Regions from separate parts of the Homo sapiens genome. Here all the other regions are linked to region 1. Evidence: promoter capture Hi-C in human tissues and cell types (Jung and others, 2019). All regions are on one chromosome and are shown on one strand. Each heading gives the region's core, a stretch centred on a gene start or on the middle of the fragment in contact. The rest is flanking DNA. Distances are from core to core; before and after follow the strand shown. Region 1 holds the start of PDGFRA (platelet derived growth factor receptor alpha). Region 2 has its middle 120 kb from the start of USP46. Region 3 overlaps USP46 (ubiquitin specific peptidase 46). Region 4 overlaps SCFD2 (sec1 family domain containing 2). Region 5 overlaps SCFD2 (sec1 family domain containing 2). Region 6 overlaps SCFD2 (sec1 family domain containing 2).

Region 1 (4,133 bases), core at 749-3,248:
CCACACCGCCCAGCCCGCGGCTTTTCGGACGCGGGGCGGTAGGGACCTGATATGGGCCCCATCCATGCTTGCCTCCCACCCAGGAAGATGGAGTGAGTGGCAAGTTCTTCCAGGCACTCCTTGCGCACATCCTGAGGTCTTAGCACAATTCGGGGAGCGAAGTGCGGGACCGGCGCTCTGGCTGCGGGAGGGATGCACAACGCACAGCCTGCCAGGCCAGCAAGTCCTTCCCGACCAAGACGCGAGGCCAGGCCATCGGCAGCTCTCGCACACCTGGCCCGGCCCAGGCTCCTGGCTCCCTCTGGCAACGTACTCGGGTTGGGCCACACTCGTCGCTCCGACCTGGCCGACACCCTCCCGGAATAGAACAGCTGATCCCACATATTCAATGCCAAATGGACGCCGCCCGCTCCCTGGGCGCAGCCGGGCGGAGTTAATTTCGTGTGTAAATCTGGTTTCCATGGGGGTAGACAGCAGAGGAAGGAGAAGTACGCACAGACGGCTCTGAAGCCGGCAGGGAGAGGAATGGAAAAAAGGCCAACTAGAGAGGACCGAGCAGCGCTGGGCGAGCTCAGACGGCAAGTGCCACGCACCCCCGCGCGGAGAAGGGTGCCGGGTAGGGGGTGTCCAGGGCTCGGGTGCCCGGAGGGAGAATATGGTTTACCTCCCACCTTTCTGTCTTACCTGCAAACAAGTTTCCCCAGTTCCAAGTCGTCCCTAACTTCCTCACAAGAAGTTCGGCACCTTCCTGGAGACCTTTCCTCTCTTCCTGCCTGCGGCCAGAACTGAGCGAAAGCAGAGCCCCCGGGCAATGCAGAAATGATTCCACCGAGGAGGGGGCGCGGGAAGACAGGCGGGGGCGGGGGCCACGGAGCACAATGAGGGCCCCTTGGTGTGCGGTTCGAAATTCCTCAAATCCCAGTTGCTGGAATGCGAGGCGACGACGACTTCTTCACTCAGGGCCAAATGTGTTTGTCATTATTCCAGACCGCCCGCCCGCGCCGCCGCTGTCGCCCCCGCGCTAGGGCGTGCAACCCGAGCACACTGCCCGGCAGGCACCCGCTCTCCCTGGCACCTCACTGACCCAACAAACCGCTCCAGAGCGCCCCAAACCCTTGCCCACGCCCGCGCGCCTCTGCTTGTCCCGCAGCCGCCTCACCGCCGCGCCAAATCTGGCCCCGACTCTCTCCCAGAGCAGCGCCGTCCAGTAATCACGCGCATTCGGCCGGCTCCCTGTGCTGTAGGCCAACACCGAGGTCCGGTCTCCAGCCGAGCCCAGCCCGCCTCCTGCGCCCCGCAACCCCTTCGCGCGCCCCCCTCCACGCTCCCCTCCACGCTCCCCTCTCCCCACCTCCCCCTGGTCCCCCAGCCGCGCTCCACACCATGGGCTGCAGCGCTGTCCCGCCAAACCGCAGGCGAGGAATGAAAACACTCATTTAAAACCTGTCGCCTTCCAGGACCCACTGCCAAGAAGAGGGCAAACACCTCTGCCTCCACCCCCAGTTCCTTGGTGTTCGGCCCAGTATTCACGAACACCACCCCCACTCCCAAAAGAAACCTCAAAAATGTAAGCCTAAACAATTTCTTTGGGAGGCCATAGGGTTGTTAGAAAAACATTGTTTTTAAAAATAGGTCTGGAAAATGTGTGTTTAAAAAAAATACCTAGACTTTCTAACTCTATGGTTATCTCCCACCCGTCCCCAAGTGAAGTTTATTCCGAAAAAAAAAAATTACTCTCTGGACACACAACTGGAATCCAGCTCCTTTTTTTTTTTCTTGTCGCCCAAAGTTTGAAGTTACTTCGCTTTCTCCAGTCCCAGAGTCTGATCAGGGACTTCCCTTATAAACAAAAAATCATTTTTTCTTTTCCCTTACCTTCTCCTCCGATGTTATTCCGCAATGAATGTCCCACACATGGAGTAAAGAGCGTGCCCACGGCCTCCAATGATCTCTTGCAGTCTCCTCCTCTGTTTCTCTCCCTGTAGCTCCAACAGTAATGGGCTCAAAAACCGCGTTTTGTAATTGATTCAATGTTATAGTCCATCCTTCTAAAACTAATCATTTGCTCTAAGTAAATAGCTGTCAGGAAATAAGCCCCCCCTCAACCTTGGTCTCTTCAAAATAAAAGTTTCTCTCAAACTCCCTGCGCTCCGAATCTCCCAGTGTCCAGATTGCGCCTTCGCTTTTTGCTCTTACGCAATCAGGGGGTCCAGTCCCAACCCCCAGACTTCGACAACAACTGGGGGGCGGGGAGAAGCAGACCAGATGGGATGGGGGGTGGTGGAAGGGGGAGGTGTTGGTGCTCTGCCGGGAAAGAGGTTTTGTGAAACTACAAACAGCCCATCATTTCCAGAATGAGTTTGCCTCCCCATTTTGGGGTTATTTTCTTAGACTGCTATAGTTTTGTATTCTCTTTGAAAAGAAGAAAAGGAACATACAAAATTGCATTTAATACCCAGAGAGAATATAAATCTAGAATCAAGAAATGTCCCTTCTACAAACTCGGCCCAACGAGAAATAGGGCCCTCGGGAGAAATCTCCAAGCGGTTGCGCCGTTTTGAACTAGGGGTCTTTTAGGGGAAGGGCTATATAGTTGCTAGTTATTTAATAGGATTGGGCAAACTGTTGAGTCCAATATGACAATGATGGGTTTTTGTTTTGTGTGGTGTGTGTGTGTGTACAAGACTGGGTGGTCTGAAATACGGTACAAAGAAAAGAGGGTCTGTGTAGGTTTGGAACGTTCTCCGATAGAACGACCTTTACTCCCTTGAAGTCACTTATCTGGTCGTGCCTTTGTTTTCGGGGTTATCTGGGCGAGGTTGCCCTGGCTTCTATCTCGCATACAAAAAAAGCTCAAGCTTGGGCGTTTGAGGAATCGTACCACCGCCTCCGCGTCGTGGGGGAGGATGCCTTTTGATTCTCCCTCCGTTCCCTCCCGCCGCGTGGGTCGAACCCTACGAATTCCTTGGAATTGACAGCTGAGCCCCAAACCCTGCGCCCAAGGCGAGAGGCCAGTGTCGGGAGGAAACGATCCTGCCGGCGAGGGAAAGGGGGCGCTGATGCTCCAGGAACCAGACCTGGGCAGAGTGGGGCTTCCCAGCGACAGCGGGGGAGGGGAGCGCGTTCACCTTCATCGCTCTCTGATTTTTGAATTCTCCTGTTGGGGTTGGGGGTCATCCTTCATCCTTCTCCCTCAACCCCACCCCAACACACGCACTCTGAAAATGGCCAAAGTGGCCAGGTTGGGACTGGCATGTCCAACAGCCGTCTCCTCCTTCACCAGGAGGGTGGACACAGTGCAGTGGACAGGGGAGAGTCACAGAGAAGTACTCCAACGGGCGCGGTGCTGTGCCTAACCAGGACAGGATCTTGGGATGTCAGCCTCGAAAACAGGGCGCCTGGGGCTGCGCTGGGGGTCCCATTGCCGCAGTTCTTCTACGCGACCCGCTCTCGTGCATCTTCAGCTTGGGTGACTGCACCGCTCGCTATTACTTCCACATGTCCCTTCAGGAAATCATTGAAGGCAAATATATGAACAGCCCCTTGTTCGGAATGCTAACAGGATACCGTAATGTTTGTAGAAAATGAGCGGGAACAAACGATCCCCCCAAAAATCAGAGTGCGGAATAAAAGGCAAAAGCGGGTGCTGGGCCACATGCTGTTAAGTTGAGAACCGGGTTTTTAGGCTAGTTGCCCCAGAGGGTAGGAGGCGAGACAGACAGCCTACCCAGAGGGGCTGCTTTGCTTCGGCGACACTGTTAGTCCGGTCAAGCCAGGGTCTTCCGTCCGCAGGGCCCCAGCGCTCTCCGCCCACAAATGGTAACTTCACAGTTCATTTCAGAGCCGTTTAATGGGGCCCGAGAAGCAGTCCGGGCGGGAGTGTCTCCAGGCAGCGACTCCTCGGGAGTTTAAAGCAGAAAGCAATGGATGAGCAAGCGAGCACCCAGTTGTCCTTCTGGTAGTAATTACCTGCCTAATTTGAATGATGCCTTTGTTATGATCATTAACAAACATTTGCTAAAGGTTTCCATGTGTGACATTCTGGAAGGTTTAAAGGCCTGAGGAGCTGACTCCAGGGATAGTGCCCCGGTGGGGGGTGGCGCAAGAAAGCAAATGGTTGGGGGAAAATTTTG
Region 2 (4,133 bases), core at 630-3,129, 1.7 Mb after region 1:
AGAGGTTACTGCTGTCTTTTTGTTTGTCTGTGCCCTGCCCCCAGAGGTGGAGCCTACAGAGGCAGGCAGGCCTCCTTGAGCTGTGGTGGGCTCCACCCAGTTGGAGCTTCCCAGCTGCTTTGTTTACCTAATCAAGCCTGGGCAATGGCGGGCGCCCCTCCCCCAGCCTCGTTGCCGCCTTGCAGTTTGATCTCAGACTGCTGTGCTAGCAATCAGCGAGATTCCGTGGGCGTAGGACCCTCTGAGCCAGGTGTGGGATATAGTCTCGTGGTGCGCCGTTTCTTAAGCCTGTCTGAAAAGCGCAATATTCGGGTGGGAGTGACCCGATTTTCCAGGTGTGTCCGTCACCCCTTTCTTTGACTCGGAAAGGGAACTCCCTGACCCCTTGCGCTTCCCAGGTGAGGCAATGCCTCGCCCTGCTTCGGCTCGCGCACGGTGCACACACACACTGGCCTGCGCCCACTGTCTGGCACTCCCTAGTGAGATGAGGCTGGTACCTCAGATGGAAATGCAGAAATCACCCGTCTTCTGCGTCGCTCACGCTGGGAGCTGTAGACCGGAGCTGTTCCTATTCGGCCATCTTGGCTCCTCCCTAACACATTCTTTAGAGGAAGATGAGATGACTTTCTGAATAAACATAACAATAGATTAGGAATGTCCATAGAAGAGACGTGTACCCTTTTCTCTTGATATGCAGTATATTTAAGAGATAGGGAAACTGATGGACACAGGAAGCCACAGACCAGGTGCCAGACATATGTGAAGAAGCCCAAATGAGTTTGCTCACTCCTATTACTCCCATTCCCAGACTTCCCTACCTTATCACCCCCCTGTTCTCCCAAACTTATCAAGGTGATTCTGTCCTCTGCGTTTGGCCTCTCATCTCATCCTCCCAGCATACAACACACTAGACAAACACATACATCCACACTGTACAAATAACACACCCCACTGCTTGGTAGCAAGGAATACACTTACCTGTGTTACTTCGAGTAAAAGTAGGGGACAGTTTGCTAGCATATTTGTGGGACTAAGGAAAACAGGAATCTCAAGCTTGTTGCCAGGCCTCCTGGGAATCGAGGGAAAGCCACATAACAGCCAAAGAAGAGTAAGACCCACAGGACAGCAGAGCATCAGAGAGCCCAGAATAAATCATCCCATGCAGAAGGTCATTCAGTGTCCAGTTAAATGTCCTGGACACTGATAATCTTGTTGCTGGCCCTCTGTCCTGTCTCCCTGCTTATACCAGAAGCTGGAATTTGTTGATCTTCAAGAGGTATAGCATTATGGGGCCTACCTCCTTTTTGCCTTTATCTTGAACCTGCTCGAAACATCTCCCTCGTGCTCTATTTAACGTATATTTGGACTTCTGCCTCCTCACAACTTCTGCTTACTCTAATTTAATAATTTCTGCTTTCTCTTGACCTTTCATTATTCTTTTGAATCTTGCCTGCCTTTTCTCTGTTTTTTTTTCTTTCTCTCTTGCTAACGAAGATGGATTCTCTCCCTCTATCTCTTCTTCGTATTCCTGAGAATTTCCCCATATTTTCATTTTATATCATATTTTTATTTCATCTTCATTTTCTATTCCAGAGAAAGATAATTTGATGCCTTTATCATCATTATTTGTGTATAACAGAGATTTCTTACCAGGCTATCTCACAGGCTATTGGGCAATTCTAAATTGGCTGCCTTTGGGTTGGGTGTCCACTTCTGGTTCAGTTAGTTATAGCCTGGGGTGGGGTCACATGGTGCAGGGCATGGCTGTTTACGCTTATGGAGCAGAAGCTTGATGAAGTGCTTTGAGTATAACCGCTTGTGAGGGGTCAATGAGGGTCGTAGATTTCAAGGCTTTTTCTGTCCGACATACATACTACCTCGAACTCCCACCTGCAATGCCATTCTCTTGTCCATTGCTCATCTTCTTGCTCATGTGGTCCAAGATTGCATTTTGTAGGTTGCTGCTTGCCTTACTTGATAGTCTTGCTTTTCTCTTTAATGGAGAGTGAAAGATGAGTTTGGGAAGAGCTGGTATGATTTTGCTTCTTTAATCAAAAAAGACCTTGAGAAACAAGGAAATGTTTTCTGGTGATGTATAACAACACACACCTCTCTTAATGGCCTCAGTGGTAAATTCAATATACCGTGACTCCTCCCTTGAGAATAATGTTTTGGGGAATGAGAAGTGGGGTGAGGTGGAAGGAATTTGGAACGTAACCTCAGGCATCTGTCCAAATACTATCCTTTTCTAGTCACTACTGCCGGTTCTCCAACTGTCCAGGCCTCACACCCCCAGAGAGCACCAGCTCTGGGGCCATAAGTGTCCTTTAGGATTATTATTCAGCCCTTTAGGTCAAACCTAAGATCTTTTTCCCACCTATGCAGTCTCAATCTTCTATTCTCTTTAAATAGCTGCCAGTGATTGTGCTATTCAGAGGTTTCTTCTCAGAATGTAATTGCTCTCTGCATACTTAAATGCCCTGGTTTCTATTGTCTCTGAATGAAATAACTTCAGATAATTCTGAGTCTGGATGATCAGACTGATGAAATCTGAGGAGAACTGAAATTGGGAAAAAATATCTTATATTTCCTCTCCTGGTGGCATCCTCATGTTTCAGAAATGTAGACAACTAAACTCTTCTGCAGAGTTCCAGAGTCTGTCTCCTGCATGTCAATGATTACTCTTAGTCTGTGAAAACACCAGGCTCTGATTTCTAGTAAAATCTAGAGTTTCCACAGACATAAATTCTTATTGTGTACCAGGCACTGCTATGGGAATGATAGGTTCATGATGATTGAGACAGATGTATTTGTTAAGGTAATCCTAGAACTTGTAACAAACAAACTAAAGAATGTGTAATGGCTCAGATGTGATAGAAGTTTGTTTTTCCTCACATAAAGTTCACAACGGGCATTGCTGATGAGTGGATGCCTCACCCAAGTAATATGTGAGGACCCAGATTTCTTTCGCCTGTGGCTCTCATGTCTTCAGCATGTGGCTTCCAAAGTCCCTGTAGAGCACGGAGGGTTGCCTGTGGCGTAACTTTATCAGCAAGACCAGGAAGGGTGCACATCACTTCCATGCCAATGGCATTGGCTAATGCATGTCACGTGGCCTAACTGCAAAGGAAGCTGGGAGACAAGGTTAGGTGTGTGCCCAGGCAGAAGTGGAAATGGGTTTGATGCATACATGGCAGTTTCTGTGAAAGTAAACAAGATGCCACTTTTCCCAGAAGCATTCATCTGTGATTTTGTGGAGTGGAGGATACTTCAGAGTAAGACAGCCTGAGACTGGCCCATTAGGAGGACTCAGTGAGCCAACAGACATCCTGACTTTTAATCTTATTTGCCAAGATGGTTACCAAGCAAACAGCAACTAATGATTTGGCTTCCACAGATTGCCTAAAGAGAAATAACACATTGCCTAAGAGCAGCAGAACTCTAGTTCAGCCTTCAGGAAGCACATTGGGGATGGGGACCAGGTGTCCACAACTTTAGCTCATCTCCTGGCCCAGATGATAACCATGGCTGATATATATATACACACACACACACATATAATTTGTATATATATAATTTACATATATAATTTATTATATATAATTATATATAAAATATATAATTATATATGTGTGTATATATACATATATACACATATGTTTACACATATATACACACACACATATGTGTGTGTGTATATATATATATATATATAAATTCCAACTTATATTTTAAGTTCAGGGATACATGTGCAGGATGTGCAGGTTTGTTACATAGGTAAACGTGTGCCATGGTGATTTGCTGCACAGATCATACCATCACCTAGGTATTAAGCCCAGTATCCATTAGCTATTCTTCCTGATCCTCTCCCTCCTCTCACTCCTACCCTCCAACAGGCCCCAATGTGTGTTGTTCCCCTCATGTGTCCATGTATTCTCATCATTTAGCTCCCACTTACAAGTGAAAACATGCGGTATTTGGTTTTCTGTTACTACATGAGTTTGTTGAGGATAATGGCCTCCAGCTCCATCCATTTTCCTGCAAAGGACATGATCTGATTCCTTTTTATGGCTGCATAGTATTCCATGGTGTATATGTACCACATTTTCTTTATCTAGTCTATCATTGATGGG
Region 3 (4,133 bases), core at 1,115-3,614, 1.6 Mb after region 1:
AATTTATGAAGAAAAGAGGTTTAATTGACTCACAGTTCCAAAGGCTTAACAGGAAGCATGACTGGGAGGCTTCAGGAAACTTAAAATCATGGCAGAAGGTGTAGGGAAAGCAGGCACATCTTACCATGGTGGAGCAGGAGAGAGCAAGAGAGAAAGGGAAAGTGCCACACACTTTCAAACAACCCGATCTTGTGAGAACTCACTCACTATCATGAGAACAGCGAGGGGAAAGACCGCCCCAATGATCCAATCACCTCCCACCAGGCCCCTAGAATTGTGGGAATTACAATTCTAGATGAGATTTGGGTGGGGACACAGAGCCAAACCATATCAAGGCCTCTTTGACCTAGGATTTTGCAAGGACCCCAGCCTCCTCTGCTGCCTTTCTGGGAACAGATGGGAAGTGTATTTGTGGGTAAAGTAGGAGCTTAGGGGACATGATAATTCAGGCAGCATCTTGGTGGCTTTGTAGAAGGATTGAATTGGAAATGAGGTTCTTGCTTCTAGCTCACTGAGTTCAGTGACATAAGTGGCTATTTCCTTGTCTTCCACCTGCAGCTAGAAAACAGGCATGGTCTCAAGATTCTTTGTTCTGCTTTTGACTTGAAGTTTTAGTTTTGCATGAGGACTTCATTTTGTTATCTCTAAATATATGGAGAATTGTTTTGCCAGCCACAGCTTCTTTCTAGATGTTCTTTAATGCTCCTTGCTAGAATGACTTGGGATGGTCATGTAGTCAAGTATCCCAGGTCAGCTTTCTTCAGTGGCAGATGTTTTGGCTTCTGTGTACAATTATTAAATGAAGTCATGTTGAGGTTTTCTTTTTTTTTTTTTTTTTTTGAGATAGAGTCTGTCTTCACCTCACAGGCTGGAGTGCAGTGGCGCGATCTCGGCTCACTGCAACTTCTGCCTCCCGGGTTCAAGCTATTCTCCTGCCTCAGCCTCCCGAGTACATGGGATTATAGGTGCATGCCACCATGTCCGGCTAATTTTTGTTGTTGTTGTTTTGAGATGGAGTCCCTCTCTGTCACCCAGGCTGGAGTGCAATGGCACGATGTCAGCTCACTGCAACCTCCACCTCCTGGGTTCAAGCAATTCTCCTGCCTCAGCCTCCTTAGTAGCTTGGCTTACAGGCGCGTGCCACCACGCCCGGCTAATTTTTTGTATTTTTAGTAGAGACGGGGTGTCACCATATTGGTTAGGCTGGTCTCAAACTCCTGACCGCGTGATCCACCCACCTCGGCCTCTCAAAGTGCTGGGATTACAGGCGTGAGCCACTGCGCCTGGCCAAGGTTTTTTTCAGAGGTTTTTTTTTTTTTTTTTTTTTAATTCAATATCATGTAAGATAGCGGTCCCCAAACTTTTTGGCACCAGGGACAGGTTTTGTGGAAGACAATTTTTCCACAAACCTGGGCAGAGCTGGGGATGGTTTTGGGATGAACGTTCCACCTCAGATTATCAGGCATTAGACTCTCAGAAGGAGTATGCAACCTAGATCCCTCTGATGCGCAGTTCACAATAGAGTTCACTCTCCTATGAGAATCTAATGCTATTGCTGATCTGACCGGAGGTAGAGCTCAGGTGGTAATGCCTGCTCACCTGCTGTGCCGCTTGGTTCCTAACAGGTCACAGAACTGTACCTGGGGGTTGGGGACTTCTGACATAAGACATAGAAGTGACATGTTGTCATGCTGTGGGATGAAAATGCCCCTTGACTGCCTTCTTGTTCATGATTGCTTTCCCTGTTGAAGCCTGGAGAGGAGTGGGCTGTTGAAACAGGAGCCAGGGTTGTGGAATAATGGTGTTAAGATCATAGGTTCACCACTTACCTCTGCCTCATGCTAACACTTGACCTTGGCAAGTTAGTTAACCTCATTTCCTTCAGCTATGACATGGGGATAATGAGTCCCCATCAGTGATTTATTTGGCAGAGAGAGTCACATTCAGTATTGCTCAGTGGGACAGGGGCTCCGTGGTGATATGTTGCTAACTAAACAGGTCAGGCATTCGTAGCCACTCTGGGTAAGTGCCCGGTGGTTAGGTAATGTGTGACAGCCAGCAGCCAAAGTGGACATACTCAGAGACAGTTCCTGGCTGGCTGCCCAAGCCTTACATCTGTAGCTAAAGAATTACTGAAAATGTGAATGAAAATATCTCCTCTCCTGGCTTGTGGTCCAGAGCTCAGACTCAGGAACCGAATTTACATAGGTTTGAATCCCAGATCTGCTCTTATTGGCTGAGTGAGCTTGGGCAGGTTCCCTACATTTTTTTCATGTGTAGAATGGGGATATTAAGAGTAATCTGCCTTGGGGTGGCAGGCAAGATTAAATGAATATGTAGATGTGAAGTTCTCTGAATGAGTGGCACCTACTGCTAACTTTTCCCCTGCTTCCCAAGTTTATTCAGTGAGCAAATTTATCAAGTGCCTTCTATACAACCAGACATTCTACTAGGTGCTGGCAAATGAATCAGACCTAATTGCTGCCCTTATAAAGCTTATGGCATAGTACAGGGGTTGGTAAGCTTTTCTGTAAATGTCTGGACAGTAAATGCTTTAGACTTTGTGGGCCGTAGTGTCTCTATCACAGCTACGCAATTCTGCTGTTAATATTGTGAAAGTAGTTGCCATAAGTAAATGAATGATCATGGCTGTGTTGCAGTAAAACTTTATTTATGACAACAATTGGTGGGTCATATTCTGCCCATAGGCTGTAATTTGCAGACCTGTGGTCTAGTGGGAAGACAGTTGTTAAATAATTACAATTATGATGTTACAGATTGTGCTAAGGGCTGTGGAGGAACAGACAGGATTCTATGAGTGGGAAGGGTCAGGGAAGGTAGCTTTGAAGAAGTGACATTGAAACCAAATGATGAGGAGAGGCAGCCAGAGGAGGAGATGGAGGGTGCTCCAGGCTGGTCTGTGGGTTCGTATCTTTTAAAGGCATAACAGATATTCTGCAGCTTTCTTTGGATTAAAATAAATAATTTCGTTCCTCTATTTAATTCATCGCCAGTTTTCTCCTCCCCTACCCTCTCCCTGCAATAATCCAAGAGATAAGCTATGTTACCAAGAGATAAGCTACATTAATATATTAACACATTTTGTTCTGCATATGCACTTTCTTTCTCTCCCTTTTCCATTGTTTTTGTTATATTATTGTCAGTATCTATCCAAGTATTTAGTAAAGATTGCACATTATTTCATTATTAGGTGTAGAATGGTTTACTCTCTAGAACTCAAATTTGCTTTTTGGTACGGTTTTCTCTTTTAGCATTTTAAAAGTTGACATTATTTGTTTTTATTCTTTGGCTAGATAAAAGGTCCACAGTCTTTGAAGTGATTTTGAAAAAAAATCTGCTTTCCTCTTAACTACATCTCATGTCTCCTCTGACTCCCAACCTCAATTTTATGTTTTCTCTAAACAAGTTGCCAGTACTCTGTAGAGATTCCATGGAAAAGGACTTGTGTGTTCTCATTCTAGAAAATTTCAAGGGGTGCTTCAGAAGGAAGGGGGTTCTCCCAACAACTTTGTGACCTCTTCGGTTTCTTCAGTTCTTTCAGTTCTGTGGTTCCAAGGAGACTCTGCCTCCCTGAGAGTCAATATTATGTAGTAGTTAGGGGCACACACACTGGAGCCAGATTGTTCAAGTTCAAACCCAATTCCAGTACTTAGTAGCTGTGTGAACTTGAATAGTTCCCTGCCCTCTCAGTTTTCTTATCTTTAAAATAAGGCCAGTAGCAGTGTCTGCCTCATAGAGTTATTATGAAGATGAAAATGAATGAAATACAAGTAAAATCCCTAGAACAGTAACTGTACACAGTCTATGCTATTTATGAGTTCTCTATTATTATTAATTACATCAGAGGCATCGGTAGCCATAATTCCTCTGTAATCACCCTTGAATTCTGTCAGGTGTCTTCTGACTCATCCTGAGATCTTGGGCTGAGTCACTTCATTTTTGCTTCACTTTCTTCATAAGACTATAGGAATGATCTTTGTCATCAGAATTCTGGGGACACTAGTCCTTTTGAAAATAGGTCCTTTATGTGCTTTGTACTTTGAAAGTATAGTTGATAAGTAGAGTAGCCTTTTGAACGATAGATCTACAAATGTGGGTTTAGCAGCAATGTT
Region 4 (4,133 bases), core at 574-3,073, 1.3 Mb after region 1:
CCTTGGCAATCCTTGACACAGGGGTGTTACTTAACCTGCACCTCAGTCCCCTTATACTTAAAATGGTGGAGACAATAGTTCCTGCCTCATACGGATGATGTGACGATTAATGAGTTAATGTAGCTGATGTATTTGGGAGAGGTAAGAAGACATATTTTTAATCTTTTCCTATTTTTTTTTAACTTATCCATGATCATGTCTCCTCTGAATGAGCTTCTAACAAAACAGAGAATACGTTCTTCTGAGTTTGAAAAAGAAACAGAAGGTTGCAGAAAACCGTCTTCTTGTTAAGTCCCCCTGTGTTTGATCAGCTTTGAATGGCAGCCCTCTGAAATGTGCCACGTGCTTTGTTAGTGCATTAGACAGGATCTTTCTCATTCTTGCTGTCCTGCTTTATGGAAACTATTGGTGGGATTCAAGCAAGTGAGTTTGATCATAACAGTCTCTCGTATTTTCCTTTGTGTCTCCTCATATTTTCCCAAAGTCGTGTTCCGAGGATTATGGGCCCTAGGAGCTTGCTTTCTGTGAAATGTCTGCAGTCTAGGGATGGAAGCCAGTGGCTGAAATCCCAGGCAATTTTGAGTTCCACTTCTGTCAAAGGCATTTATACTCAATTTGCTTCATTGCTCATGGACGATTGAAACAGCCCAGTTGGTAAACAGCCAGAGGAAAACAGGGTAAAAAATAACAATAATAATAATAATAATAAAGAAAAAAAAAAACCTCCCAACTACATTACATCGAGCTCAAGCTGTCATGATGAAAACTTAAAGATTTACTCACTCAAGAAAATATCTCTGGATTTTTTCAGACTGGGACTCTTCAATTAATCTGACATTTCACAAATCCAAAATTGCCGTGGATGAACTCTTTACTTCACTTCGGGATATTGCTGGAGCTCGGAGTCTCCTGAAACAGTTTAAGTCTGTATATGTTCCTGGAAATCATACCCACCAGGCAAGTATATACGTTTTAAAGTAACCTTCTAATCTGTTGTACTTCTAGGATTCAGAGTCTATAGAAGAAAAGGTTCCCTTTTAACCTTCCTAAAACCAAAGGTTTGTTCTAGATGATCTCCAAGTTCTCTTTTAGTTCAGAGTTTTGGGTCCCACGGAATCTGAAAGCCTCTCAATTCATTTATGCCCCAGGCTTGATATGGTGGGATGAGCACTGAGTTGGGAGTCAGCCATGGCTTTCTAACTGTGGGTTTGTCGCAGACTGATTCTATAGCCTTCTGCAAGTCCCTTCTCTCCTCTGGGAGCCAATGACTACAGGTACCAAATGAGGGGCTGGCCTTAGAGGATTCCCAAGTTTCTGGATCTAACCAGTCCGTAAACATTTTGAATGAGCAGAATAATGAAAACACCTGATAATGTTACGACAAGGGAAAAAGTTTGTGATGAAAATATGTGTTATTTAAAATTCCTCCACTGCTTTCAAAGGAGGGCAGGAGGACCTAAGAAGAATGTTTTTTGACCATTGAGTAAAGAGATGGTATCAAGATTAAGGTATAATTGCTGTGTAAAAACTCAGAGGGGGAAAGTACATAGAAAGACCCAAAGGGAAGCTTAAGGAATAAAGAAAGGTTAGAGCCACTGAGGCTGGGGAGTCTTTGTTGGACAAGGTAGGAGACAGAACTAAGGTTCCTGGTGGCCAAAGATGAGCTCTCAGGGAAGAACAAATGTTTCTGTTGGAAAAGATGACTAAGTTTAACTGTGGGGAATCTTATTTATTTCTCCATAAAACCTTTAGTAAAATAAACTCTATTTGTTAAGGCTTTTTGGAGAGCTGAATGTGCTGTTAGTGGGGAGGAGTTCAGCTTCAGGGTGCTGACTCTTTAAGGGAGACTTGAGCTAATGTTACCCACTGCAGCTAGCACAATCCAGATTCTTCCTCCAGTATCCTGTATTTGTTTGGGAGCTGATACCTGAAGAGCACTTCTACATTGGATTTTTCCTTTGATTGCCACAAGTTATGCCAGGGAGGCATTATTATTCCAAGATCCGGGAAGGCCAAGTGACGTGCCACAGGCATGCAGATGGCCAGGGGCAGATGCCAGATCTTTGCTGCCAGCCCAAAACCTCCTCCCTGACTATAATATGGTTCTCATAGAGATTCTAGAAGTGTTGATTGGTGGTGCTGATGATCATCTGAAATCACCTACCAAGATACTGAAGACCTTAGAAACTGTCACTCTTCTTAGAAACATAAAGATTTTCATCCTTTACTCAAAGATCTGAGAATGCCACGGCGACAAAATACAGATAAAATCACTCAGGTATTCATACGTAGTTTTGTCATTTTAAAAAATCAGCAATCTTAAATACTATAATGTGGACTAGTTCCAAAAGACATGCTAGAACTAGTGATATATGATGACATTGAGACCAAAAATGTCAAGAAGCAAGTGGCTGGTGTAGTTGGCAAAGAGAAAATAAACCACTAAATGAATGAGGTCTTTCCCATTTTATGTCATCCGGGTGACTGATTTGGCCAACTTCACGTAAACATGTATTAGCTATATATCTTGCACGTGATAAGGACAATAAGTTTCTTAGACCTTATCTCCCTGCTGCCAACACTGTCATTTCTCCAGCCCTCAGAACCCTGTCTTGCAGCCATGGCCTTTGGAAAATGGAGTTTCCCTTTGTCGCATATGTCCCCCCTTACAATAGTCAATAACATCAGCACACTCCCAACAATCCTAAGTGTCAGTGAGTGGGAAGTGGAGTGGAGGTAGGGTAATGTGTGTACATTGGGGGGATTAAATAAATAATGATACAGACACATGGTGAAATGCTGTGCAACCATTACAATGAATGGAATAGACCTAGATATGCTGAGCAGGGTGTGTGTTTGAATCCTTGGCCCAAGGTCCGCTTCTTGGGGAGCTCAACTGAAACAGAGGTCCATGATCAATTGGGTGGCAGTGAGGGGACATGTAGGTCATTCTGTAAAGCATTATTCTATTTTTGTAAAAATAGAATAAAATAAATATTTCATAGGTATGTATACTTAATGTCTTTAAAATTTAGGAAAAATTTATAATGGTTACCTTATGGTGGATGGGTAGGATTGGATGGATAAGGAGAAACACTGATTTCTTGCTTTATTTTTACATATTCTATACATGTGACACTTTTTAATGGGATTATGGGTAATTTTTACCTCTGGGTTTTTCAGTGTTTTTCAAATTTAAAATATTTTTAAATTACAGATGTAAGCCTTGTGACAACAGGGATTTTTATGGGTTTTGTTCACTGCCGTATCCCCAGTACCTAGAGTGGCATCTGTCACATAGTGGATGCTTAGTAAATATTTGTTAGGTACATCTTAAGTACAATACATATATATTTATTACAGATCAGGAGATTTATTTGGACACAAAATATGCATGCATAGGAAAGTACAAGTGTCCAGACTAGACTCAGAGTCCAGCTGCGTGTCTGGTTTAGAAAAATAGTCCTTGGCTAAACAATATTCTGTTCATCTCATCTACCAATTTGGTCCTCAGCCCTGTGACTCCAGAAGAAATCTATGCTTTCTACCCAGCTCCATGCTGTCTCCAGACAGAATCTGATTGAGATGTCCTGGGCTCCCTGGTCACGTGGGAGAGTGCTAGCTGGCCTGGCCCTGGGTTCCTGTTCCCGGTCTGACCTATGCTGCATATTAGGATCTAGGCCTTGGGCCCCCACTGGCCCCACCTTCCCTCCCAGTGGTCCTCCGTCCTGCTGTGATGCGCATGCACTAAGTCTCAGAGCCACTCCTGCTTCCCTTGCTAGGACTAGAGGCACCTCTTATTTTAATCTTTACCCATTAACCCGTTAGGAAAAGGTGTCAATCACAATTCAGATGCAGAAAGTAGACACCATCTAGTCACTTTAAGGAGAAGGTGTCCCAACTGCGTTACATCGAGCATATAAAATCTCTAGAGGGGTCAGAGGAGTGGGATCTGGACTAGACCTCCAGAAATAAATCCCAGAACATTACCACAGGCCTGGCCCTCCAGGGCAGCCAGGACCTTTTCACAGCCTGGAGAGTGGGGGCAATGGGGATCAAGAGGCAACCACAGAAGCTCTTGACTTAAAGAACATCTCACCAAGGCTGGAGACAGCACCTGTCTTTGATCACCA
Region 5 (4,133 bases), core at 794-3,293, 1.2 Mb after region 1:
CAGTGAGAAGCCATGAAAGGGTTTTCAGCCTATGAGTAACTTGATCATATCTGTGTTTTATAAAACACTGACCTCAATGTGGAGAATGGGTTGGAATGAGGCCAGAGATGGTGTCGGCAATCAGGTGCATTATCTGCCTGGCTTTTTCCTGGTTTTTGTTCTTTCTTCATAGCCTCCCACCACTGTGTGCAAAACTCTCCAGCTTCAAGGGGATGGCTGTAATTTTCAGTTCCAGACATAGAGATGTTATCTGTTTTATTGAACTAGAATAATCTAATCCAATTCTGAGCTTTGTCATCTTGAAGTATTCCTCATGGCCTCCTCTACAACCTATCTTGATTCGTTTAATCACGACAGCTATTTAGCCAGACTGTTGCTGGTGAGGTTTGCTGCCACTTAATCTGGAGCTGTTAGAAAGCAGTGCTCATGACTGCCTTTTGTGCCATTTTGAAAATGTCTAATCAACACCTCATTTGTCCACCATTATTGGGGGAATAAGATATCCTGGTAAGATCTTGCTTCTCTTAAGTACTTAAAGGTGTTTTTAAGACTTCTTTTTATTTGCTGATCTCAAAAGTGGCCACAGAAACAACATTAAACATAGAATTTTAGAGAAAGAAATTCCTTACCTCCATTATATGACTACCTTTGCATGTGACATTCGAGTGTTTGCGGACTCATGTACACATATCAAAATATTTTCTATTGTGTTTTATTTTTTCCTGTTTAACATCTATAGCCTGTAACAGGAGTAAATAAACATTTGCTGAATGCTGAATCTATGAATGAATACATGCCAATCAAAGAATTTTTTAAAATACTGAAAACCCAAAAGAAGGAAATTAAAATGACCTCAAATAAAACAAAAACATCAACAAAATGACCTATAACCCCTCCACTGAGAGAGAGCATTTTGTCTGTGCATTTTATCTAATTTTCTGACATAAGGTAGTCATTATCATTATCAGAAATTTTTTAAAGAGATAGACTCAGATTAGGCAGCTTGGTGCAGGAGGCTGAACCAGGCAAGATTCATGATTCCAGCTGATGCATGCCTTCCATTCACTATGCCCTGCTGCCTTTCTGCTCACTCTTTAACATTATTCTGTCATTTGGGAACAAAACAAGGAGGAGACGATAGCTAATGGCAGTGAAACATGGTGGTTTAGAGCACCAGAAACCCAGACTGCCTGGGTTTGAATCCTACTTCGGCTATGTAAGCTTGCACAAGTGATTTAACCTCTGTAGACTGACCCTCAGGTCTGTTGTGACGACTAAATAAGTTAATATAGGTTATGAAGAGTGCATAGCACAGTGAATAGCACATGGTATGCACTATACCACTGTTTGTTGTTACTGTGATTGTTACTATTAGTACCAATAATCTACACTCAGGTCACTAAACATTCCTCTTCACCATCCTCTTGCATTAAGGTTATGAGTGTGCCAGACAGAGTTCCATGTCACAAGACTTCTAATGGCAAGGCTGGGCAGACATTCTTGGTATCATATCTTGTGTTCTTCCTAGTGAATTCCAGACTCACAAAGATTAAAATTTGTTTCCAGCAAGAAAATGTCCTTTCCACATGGAATTAACCGTGTGAAGTCTCTTGTGTTAAACTGAACTGGGTTGAAAGAAGGTACGCCATTCTGTTGTGCTTATTCTTTGGGACACGTTTTCCAATTCTCACACACTGTTCATCTGATTTACTCCACAAGCTGAAAAAGATTCCTAAGATTAATGTTTTGATGCTTTATTTTTATTATTTATTTATTTATTTATTTGAGACTAGGTCTCGCTCAGTCACCCAGGCTGGAGTGTAGTGGTGTGTGGGAGTCCAGGGAAGGCCTCCCTAAGCTTCCACCTGACAGATGACAGGAAATGGGGAGGCAGAGGATGTGAGCAGCTTTAGAGGAAGCAAGAAGGGGCACTGGGAGTTGGAGGAATGCAGGCAGCATGGCTGAAGCCCAATGAGAAGAGAGGCAGGAGCCAGATGACCCAGGGCCTGGAGGGCCATCGAAATAAAACATTTGAGATACACAGCTCCCTGCAGCCCTGACCTTTCAGGCTCGAGCGATCTGTCCACTTCAACCTACTTAGTAGCTGGGACCACAGATATGCACCACCACCCATGGCTAATTTTTTATTTTTATTTTCTGTAGAGACAGGGTCTCCCTATGTTTCCTAGGCTGTTCTCAAACTCCTGGGCTCAAGGGATCTTCCTGCCTCAGCCTCCCAAAATGCTGGGATTACAGGCATGAGCCACTACACCTAGTATCTTCATTTTTTCAGGTCAAGACAATACTGCAAAGGTTAAAGTGACTCTCTAAGTTTTAGAGTATGTCTGTGTGTATGTATGTATGTACTTATTTATTCATTTTGAGACAGAGTCTTGCTCTGTCACCTAGGCTGGGGTGCAGTGGCACGATCTCGGTTCACTACATTCTCTGCCTCCAGGTTCAAGTGGTTCTCATGCCTCAGCCTCCCAAGTAGCTGGGACTACAGGCACACACCACCACACTGAGCTAATTTTCGTATTTTTAGTAGAGACAGGATTTCGCCATGTTGACTAGGCTGGTCTTGAACTCCTGACCTCAGGTGACCCACCCACTTCGGCCTCCTAAAGTGCTGGGATTACAGGTCTGAGCAACTGCGCGTAGCCTAGAATATTTAATTAAAAGATTTTTCAAGCTACCTTGCTGGTGATGCTGCTGGGTCTTGTGCACTGGGTAAGTGAATGCCTGGGCCACATTTAGCAGTCACCAGACAGTACACACATTCCCTCACATGTGACCAGTCAGGGCAGAAGGGCTGTCAGGTCGAAGAGCTGTCACATTTTCAGAAGAATTAGACACCCCTGCAAAATATTATCAGTTCAAGTCCAGAAGGTTACCTACTGGAGATGCCCATTTCTGAGACAGTTTAAACCTCATTTCTCTAAGGAAAACAAACTAGCAAAGCACACCTTGGAGTTTGGGGGAAGAAATAAATATGCCATTCCTGGCTTTCTTTGGATAGAAACAACCTAAATGGAACCACAGAGCCAAAAATTGGAAAAGAGTAAAGTCATTCTGAATTTTAAAATCGTAAGACGGTGTAACATGCATGTCAGTCACCTGATAGAAGTGTATGTGTGTACATGTGTGTGCATTAGTGTGCGTGGTACAGGTGAGAGGAAGATATCATGAGGAACAGATAGTTAAGGAGTCAAGAAGACACAACCTGCAAAGAAAATACTTGGAAGATAATTGTGGGGCTTTTTGTTTGTTTGTTTTTTGTTTTAGAGACAGGGTCTCACTCTGTTGTCCAGGCTGGAGTGCAGTGGTGTGATCATGGCTCACTGCCACCTCGACCTCATGCACTCAAGTGATCCTCCCACCTCAGCCTCTCAAGTAGCTGGGGACTACGGCACATGCCACTAAGCCTGCCTAATTTTTTAATTTTTTGTAGAGTCTGGGTCTCACTATGTTGCCCAAGCTGGTTTTGAACTCCTGGCTTCAAGCAGTCCTCCTGCCTCAGCCTCTCAAAGTGCTGGGATTATAGGTTATCAGCCACTGTGCTCAGTGAGAATTGGGATTTCACACTTTTGAGAATGGCAGGGGAGCAGGAACTTTGTGTTTTTTAAATCTATGATCTTTAAGTTATAGAACAATTTTTGGAATATAGTAGGCATTCAGTAAATATTTATTACTGAAATATGAAAAGAAGTCAAAACTTGGGAAAATAATTACTACACACATCACAAAAACACATAGCTTTGGTCGGGCACAGTGGCTCCCTCCTGTAATCCCAGCACTTTGGGAGACCAATGCAGGTGGATCACCTGAGGTCAGGAGTTTGAGACCACGCTGGCCAATATGGCAAAACCCCGTCTCTACTAAAAATACAAAAGAAAATTAGCTGGATGTGGTGGCGCGTGCCTGTAATCCCAGCTACTTGGGAGGCTGAGGCAGGAGAATTGCTTGAACCTGGGAGGTGGAAGTTGCAGTGAGCCGAGATCATGCCATTGCACTCCAGCCTGGGCGACAGAGCAAGGCTCTGTCTCAAAGAAAAAAACAACAACAAAAACACGTAGCTTTGTTGAAGTGGGAGTGTCAGGTACCATTGAACCAGAACTTTCTACTTACTTTTG
Region 6 (4,133 bases), core at 496-2,995, 1.1 Mb after region 1:
TTCTCTGATGGTAGTTTGTATTTCTGTGGGATCAGTGGTGATATTCCCTTTATCATTTTTATTGTGTCTATTTGATTCTTCTCTCTTTTCTTCTTTATTAGTCTGACTAGTCACTTATCTATTTTGTTAATCTTTTAAAAAAAGCACCTCCTGGATTTATTGATTTTTTAAGGGTTTTTCGTGTCTCTATATCTCCTTCACTTCTGCTGTAGTTATTTCTTGTCTTCTGTTAGCTTTTGAATTTGTTTGCTCTTGCTTCTCTAGTTCTTTTAATGGTGATGTTAGGATGTCAACTTTACATCTTTCCTACTTTCTCCTGTGGGCATATAGTGCTATAAATTTCACTCTAAACACTGCTTTAGTTGTGTCCCGTTGATTCTGGTACATTGTGTCTTTGTTCTCATTGATTTCAAAGAACTTATTTATTTCTGCCTTAATTTCATTATTTACCCAGTAGTCATTCAGGAGCAGGTTGTTCAGCTTTCATGTAGTTGTGGGGTTTTGAGTGAGTTTCTTAATCCTGAGTTCTAGTTTGATTGCACTGTGGTCTGAAAGACTGTTGTTCTGATTTCCGTTCTTTTGCATTTGCTGAGTATTTTACTTCCAATTATGTGATCAATTTTAGAATAAGTGCGATGTGGTGCTGTGAAGAAGGTATATTCTGTTGATTTGGGGTGGAGAATTCTGTAGATGTCAGTTAGGTCCACTTGATCCAGAACTGAGTTCAAGTCCTGAATATTCTTGTTAATTTTCTGTCTCATTCATCTGTCTAATATTGACAGTGGGGTGTTAAAGTCTTCCACTATGATTGTGTGGGCATCTAAGTCTCTTTGCAGATCTGTAAGAACTTATTTTATGAATCTGGGTGCTTCTGTATTGGGTGCATATATATTTAGGATAGTTAGCTCTTCTTGTTGCATTGATCCCTTTACCACTATGTAATGCCCTTCTTTTCTTTTTTGATCTTTGTTGGTTTAAAGTCTGTTTAATCGGGGACTAGGATCACAACCCCTGCTTTTTTTTGCTTTCCATTTGTTTGTTAAATATCCCTCCATCTCTTTATTTTGAGCCTGTGAGTGTCTTTGCACATGAGGTAGATCTCCTGAATACAGCACACCAATGGGTCTTGACTCTTTATCCAATTTGCCAGTCTGTGTATTTTATTTGGGGCATTTGGCCCATTTATGTTTAAGGTTAATATCGTTATGTGTGAATTTAATCCTGTCATTATGATGCTAGCTGGTTATTTTGCCCATTACTGGATGCAGTTTCTTCATAGTGTCAATGGTGTTTACAATTTGGTATGTTTTTGCAGTGGATAGTACCGGTTTTTCCTTTCCATGTTTAGTGCTTCCTTCAGGAGTTCTTGTAAGGCAGGCCTGGTGGTGACAAAATCTCTCAGCATTTGCTTGTTTGTAAAGGATTTTATTTCTCCTGTGCTTATGAAGCTTAGTTTGGCTGAATATGAAATTCTGGGTTGAAAATTCTTTTCTTTAAGAATGTTGAATATTGGCCCCCACTCTCTTCTGGCTTTTAGGGTGTCTGCCAAGATATCTGCTGTTAGTCTGATGGGCTTCCCTTTGTGGGTAACCCGACCTTTCTCTCTGGCTGCCCATAACATTTTTTCCTTCGTTTCAATTTTGGTGAATCTGATGATTACATGTCTTGGGGTTGCTCTTCTCGAGGGGTATCTTTGTGGTGTTCTGTGTATTTTCTGAATTTGAATGTTGGCCTGTCTTGCTAGGTTGGGGAAGTTCTCCTGGATAATATCCTGAACAGTGTTTTCCAACTTGGTTTCATTCTCTCCATCACTTTCAGGTACACTTTCAGGTACAATCAAATGTAGGTTTGGTCTTTTCACATAGTCCCCTATTCCTTGGAGGCTTTGTTTGTTTGTTTTCATTCTCTTTTCTCTAATCTTTTCTTCACTGTTTATTTCATTAAGTTGATCTTCAATCTCTGATATCCTTTCTTCCTCTTGATCATTCGGCTATTGATACTTGTGTATGCTTCACGAAGTTCTCTGTGTTTTTCAGCTCCATCAGATCATTTATGTTCTTCTCTAAACGGTTATTCTAGTTATCAATTCCTCTAACCTTTTTTCAAGGTTCTTGGCTTCCTTGCATTGGGTTAGAACATGCTCCTTTAACTCAGAGGAGTTTCTTATTACCCACCTTCTGAAGCCTACTTCTGGCAATTCGTCAAACTCATACTCCGTCCATTTTTGTTCCCTTGCTGGCAAGCAGTTGTGACCGTTTGGAGGAGAAGAGGTGTCCTGGTTTTTGGAATTTTCAGCCTTTTTGTGCTGGTTTTTCCTCATCTTCATGGATTTATCTACCTTTGGTCTTTGATGTTGGTGACCTTCAGATCGGGTTTTTGTGTGGACATCCTTTTTGTTGATGTTGATGCTATTCCTTTCTGTTTATTTGTTTTCCTTCTAAACAGTCAGGCCCCTCTGCTGCAGGTCTGCTAGTGTTTGCAGGTCCACTCCAGACCCTGTTTGACTGGGTCCACTCCAGACCCTGTTTGACTGGGTATCACCAGTGGAGCCTGCAGAACAGCAAAGATTACTGCCTGTTCCTTCCTCTGGAAGCTTCGTCCCAGAGGGGCACCCACCAGATGCCAGCCAGAGCTCTCCTGTGTGAGGTGTCTGTCAACCCCTGCTGGGAAGTGTCTCCCAGTCAGGAGGCGGGGGGTGGGGGGGTCAGGGACCCAATTGAGGAGGCAGTCTGTCCCTTAGCAGAGCACGAGCACTGTGTTAGGACTTCTGCTGCTCTCTTCAGAGCCTGCAGGCAGGGACATTTAAGTCTGCTGAAGCTGCGCCCACAGCCGCTCCTTCCCCCAGGTGTACTGTCCCAGGGAGATGGGAGTTTTATCTATAAGCCCCTGACTGGGGCTGCTGCCTTACTTTCAGACATGCCCTGCCCAAAGAGGAGGAATCTAGAGAGGCAATCTGACTACTGCGGCTTTGCGGAGCTGCAGTGGGCTCCATCTTGTTTGAACTTCCCTGTGGCTTTGTTTACACTGTTAGGGGAAAACCACCTTTTCAAGTGTCAGAAATGGTAAACACCCCTCCCCCGACCAAGGTCGAGGGTCCCAGGTGGACTTCAGACTGCTGTGCTGTCAGTGAGAATTTCAAGCCAGTGGATCCTAGCATGCTGGGCTCCATGGGGGTGGGATCTGCTGAGCTAGACCACTTGGCTCCCTGGCTTCAGCCCCCTTTCCAGGGGAGTGAACGGCTCTGTCTCGGTGGTATTCCAGGTGCCACTGGGGTATGAAAAAAAACTCCTAAAGCTAGCTCGGTGTCTGCCCAAACGGCCGCGCAGTTTTGTGCTTGAAACCCAGGGCACTGGTGGTGTAGGCACGGAAGTGAATCTCCTGGTCTGCAGGTTGTGAAGAATCTGGGAAAAGCATAGTATCTGGGCCGGAGTGCACCATTCCTCATGGCACAGTCCCTCATGGCTTCCTTGGCTAGAGGAGGGAGTTCCCCGACCGCTTGCACTTCTGGGGTAAGGCAATGCCCCACCCCACTTCAGCTCGCCCTTTGTGAGCTGCACCCATTGTCTGACCACTCCCAATGACATGAGGCAGGTACCTCACTTGGAAATGCAGAAATCACCTTCCTTTTGTGTTGATCTCACTGGGACCTGCAGACCGGAGCTGTTCCTATTCAGCCATCTTGCCAGCCACTCTCTAATTCTCTTTTTACTACCAAATCTCTTAATTAGGCTGCGCTGTATGACCCCATGAGCTGTGGAGAACTAACTGTGAGGAAACGTCAGGTCATCTGTGTTTTGTGATGATATTCTGCAGTAATGATTAGCACAAGCTGTTCAGCTGACATGGATTTGTTTTTAGTTTAAATAAACTTTGTTTTTTAGAATGGTTTTAGATGTACAGAATAATTCAAAGCTAATACAGAGTTTCCATATAACCTGTATCCAGTTTTTCTTATTATTTACATCTTACGTTAGTATGGTACATTTACAAGTAACAATACAGTATTATTAACTAAAGTGTGGACTTTTTAAAGATTTCCTTAGTTTCTACCTAATATCCTTATTCTGTTCTAGGATTCCATCCAGGGTGCCATATTACATTTACTCATCACGTCACCTTTGGCTTCTCTTGGT

The links. Contacts are between HindIII fragments. The study calls those that stand out against the background at their distance.
Region 2: a contact is called between a fragment that was not itself captured here and the fragment with the promoter of PDGFRA in region 1, in 1 of the 25 tissues and cell types used here (lymphoblastoid cells).
Region 3: a contact is called between a fragment that was not itself captured here and the fragment with the promoter of PDGFRA in region 1, in 1 of the 25 tissues and cell types used here (lymphoblastoid cells).
Region 4: a fragment that was not itself captured here is called in contact with the fragment with the promoter of PDGFRA in region 1 in 1 of the 25 tissues and cell types used here (lymphoblastoid cells).
Region 5: a fragment that was not itself captured here is called in contact with the fragment with the promoter of PDGFRA in region 1 in 1 of the 25 tissues and cell types used here (aorta).
Region 6: a contact is called between a fragment that was not itself captured here and the fragment with the promoter of PDGFRA in region 1, in 1 of the 25 tissues and cell types used here (aorta).

The regions. Positions count from the first base shown.
Region 1 is chr4:54,227,158-54,231,290 of GRCh38, reverse strand. It overlaps PDGFRA (platelet derived growth factor receptor alpha), which reads right to left and starts at 1,998. Exons shown (of 23, transcript NM_006206.6): 1 at 1,876-1,998. RefSeq lists an enhancer at 2,700-3,525. The HindIII fragment of the contact is 9,376 bases long and covers 1-4,133 here.
Region 2 is chr4:52,534,932-52,539,064 of GRCh38, reverse strand. No RefSeq gene overlaps it. Among named protein-coding and RNA genes, the nearest start is that of USP46, 120 kb to the left of the region's middle. The HindIII fragment of the contact is 3,875 bases long and covers 1-3,816 here.
Region 3 is chr4:52,641,932-52,646,064 of GRCh38, reverse strand. The region is part of intron 1 of USP46 (ubiquitin specific peptidase 46); the gene reads left to right. Among named protein-coding and RNA genes, the nearest start is that of USP46, 15 kb to the left of the region's middle. RefSeq lists enhancers at 3,852-4,041, 4,052-4,121. The HindIII fragment of the contact is 3,806 bases long and covers 462-4,133 here.
Region 4 is chr4:52,917,549-52,921,681 of GRCh38, reverse strand. SCFD2 (sec1 family domain containing 2) reads left to right here. Exons shown (of 9, transcript NM_152540.4): 6 at 812-957. Among named protein-coding and RNA genes, the nearest start is that of SCFD2-AS1, 7.7 kb to the left of the region's middle. The HindIII fragment of the contact is 3,372 bases long and covers 138-3,509 here.
Region 5 is chr4:53,046,599-53,050,731 of GRCh38, reverse strand. All of the region lies in intron 5 of SCFD2 (sec1 family domain containing 2), which reads left to right. LOC124900701 (a long non-coding RNA gene) reads right to left here. Exons shown (of 3, transcript XR_007058116.1): 2 at 2,697-2,858; 3 at 1,634-1,719. Among named protein-coding and RNA genes, the nearest start is that of SCFD2-AS1, 120 kb to the right of the region's middle. The HindIII fragment of the contact is 3,051 bases long and covers 518-3,568 here.
Region 6 is chr4:53,104,444-53,108,576 of GRCh38, reverse strand. All of the region lies in intron 5 of SCFD2 (sec1 family domain containing 2), which reads left to right. Among named protein-coding and RNA genes, the nearest start is that of SCFD2-AS1, 180 kb to the right of the region's middle. The HindIII fragment of the contact is 4,966 bases long and covers 1-4,133 here.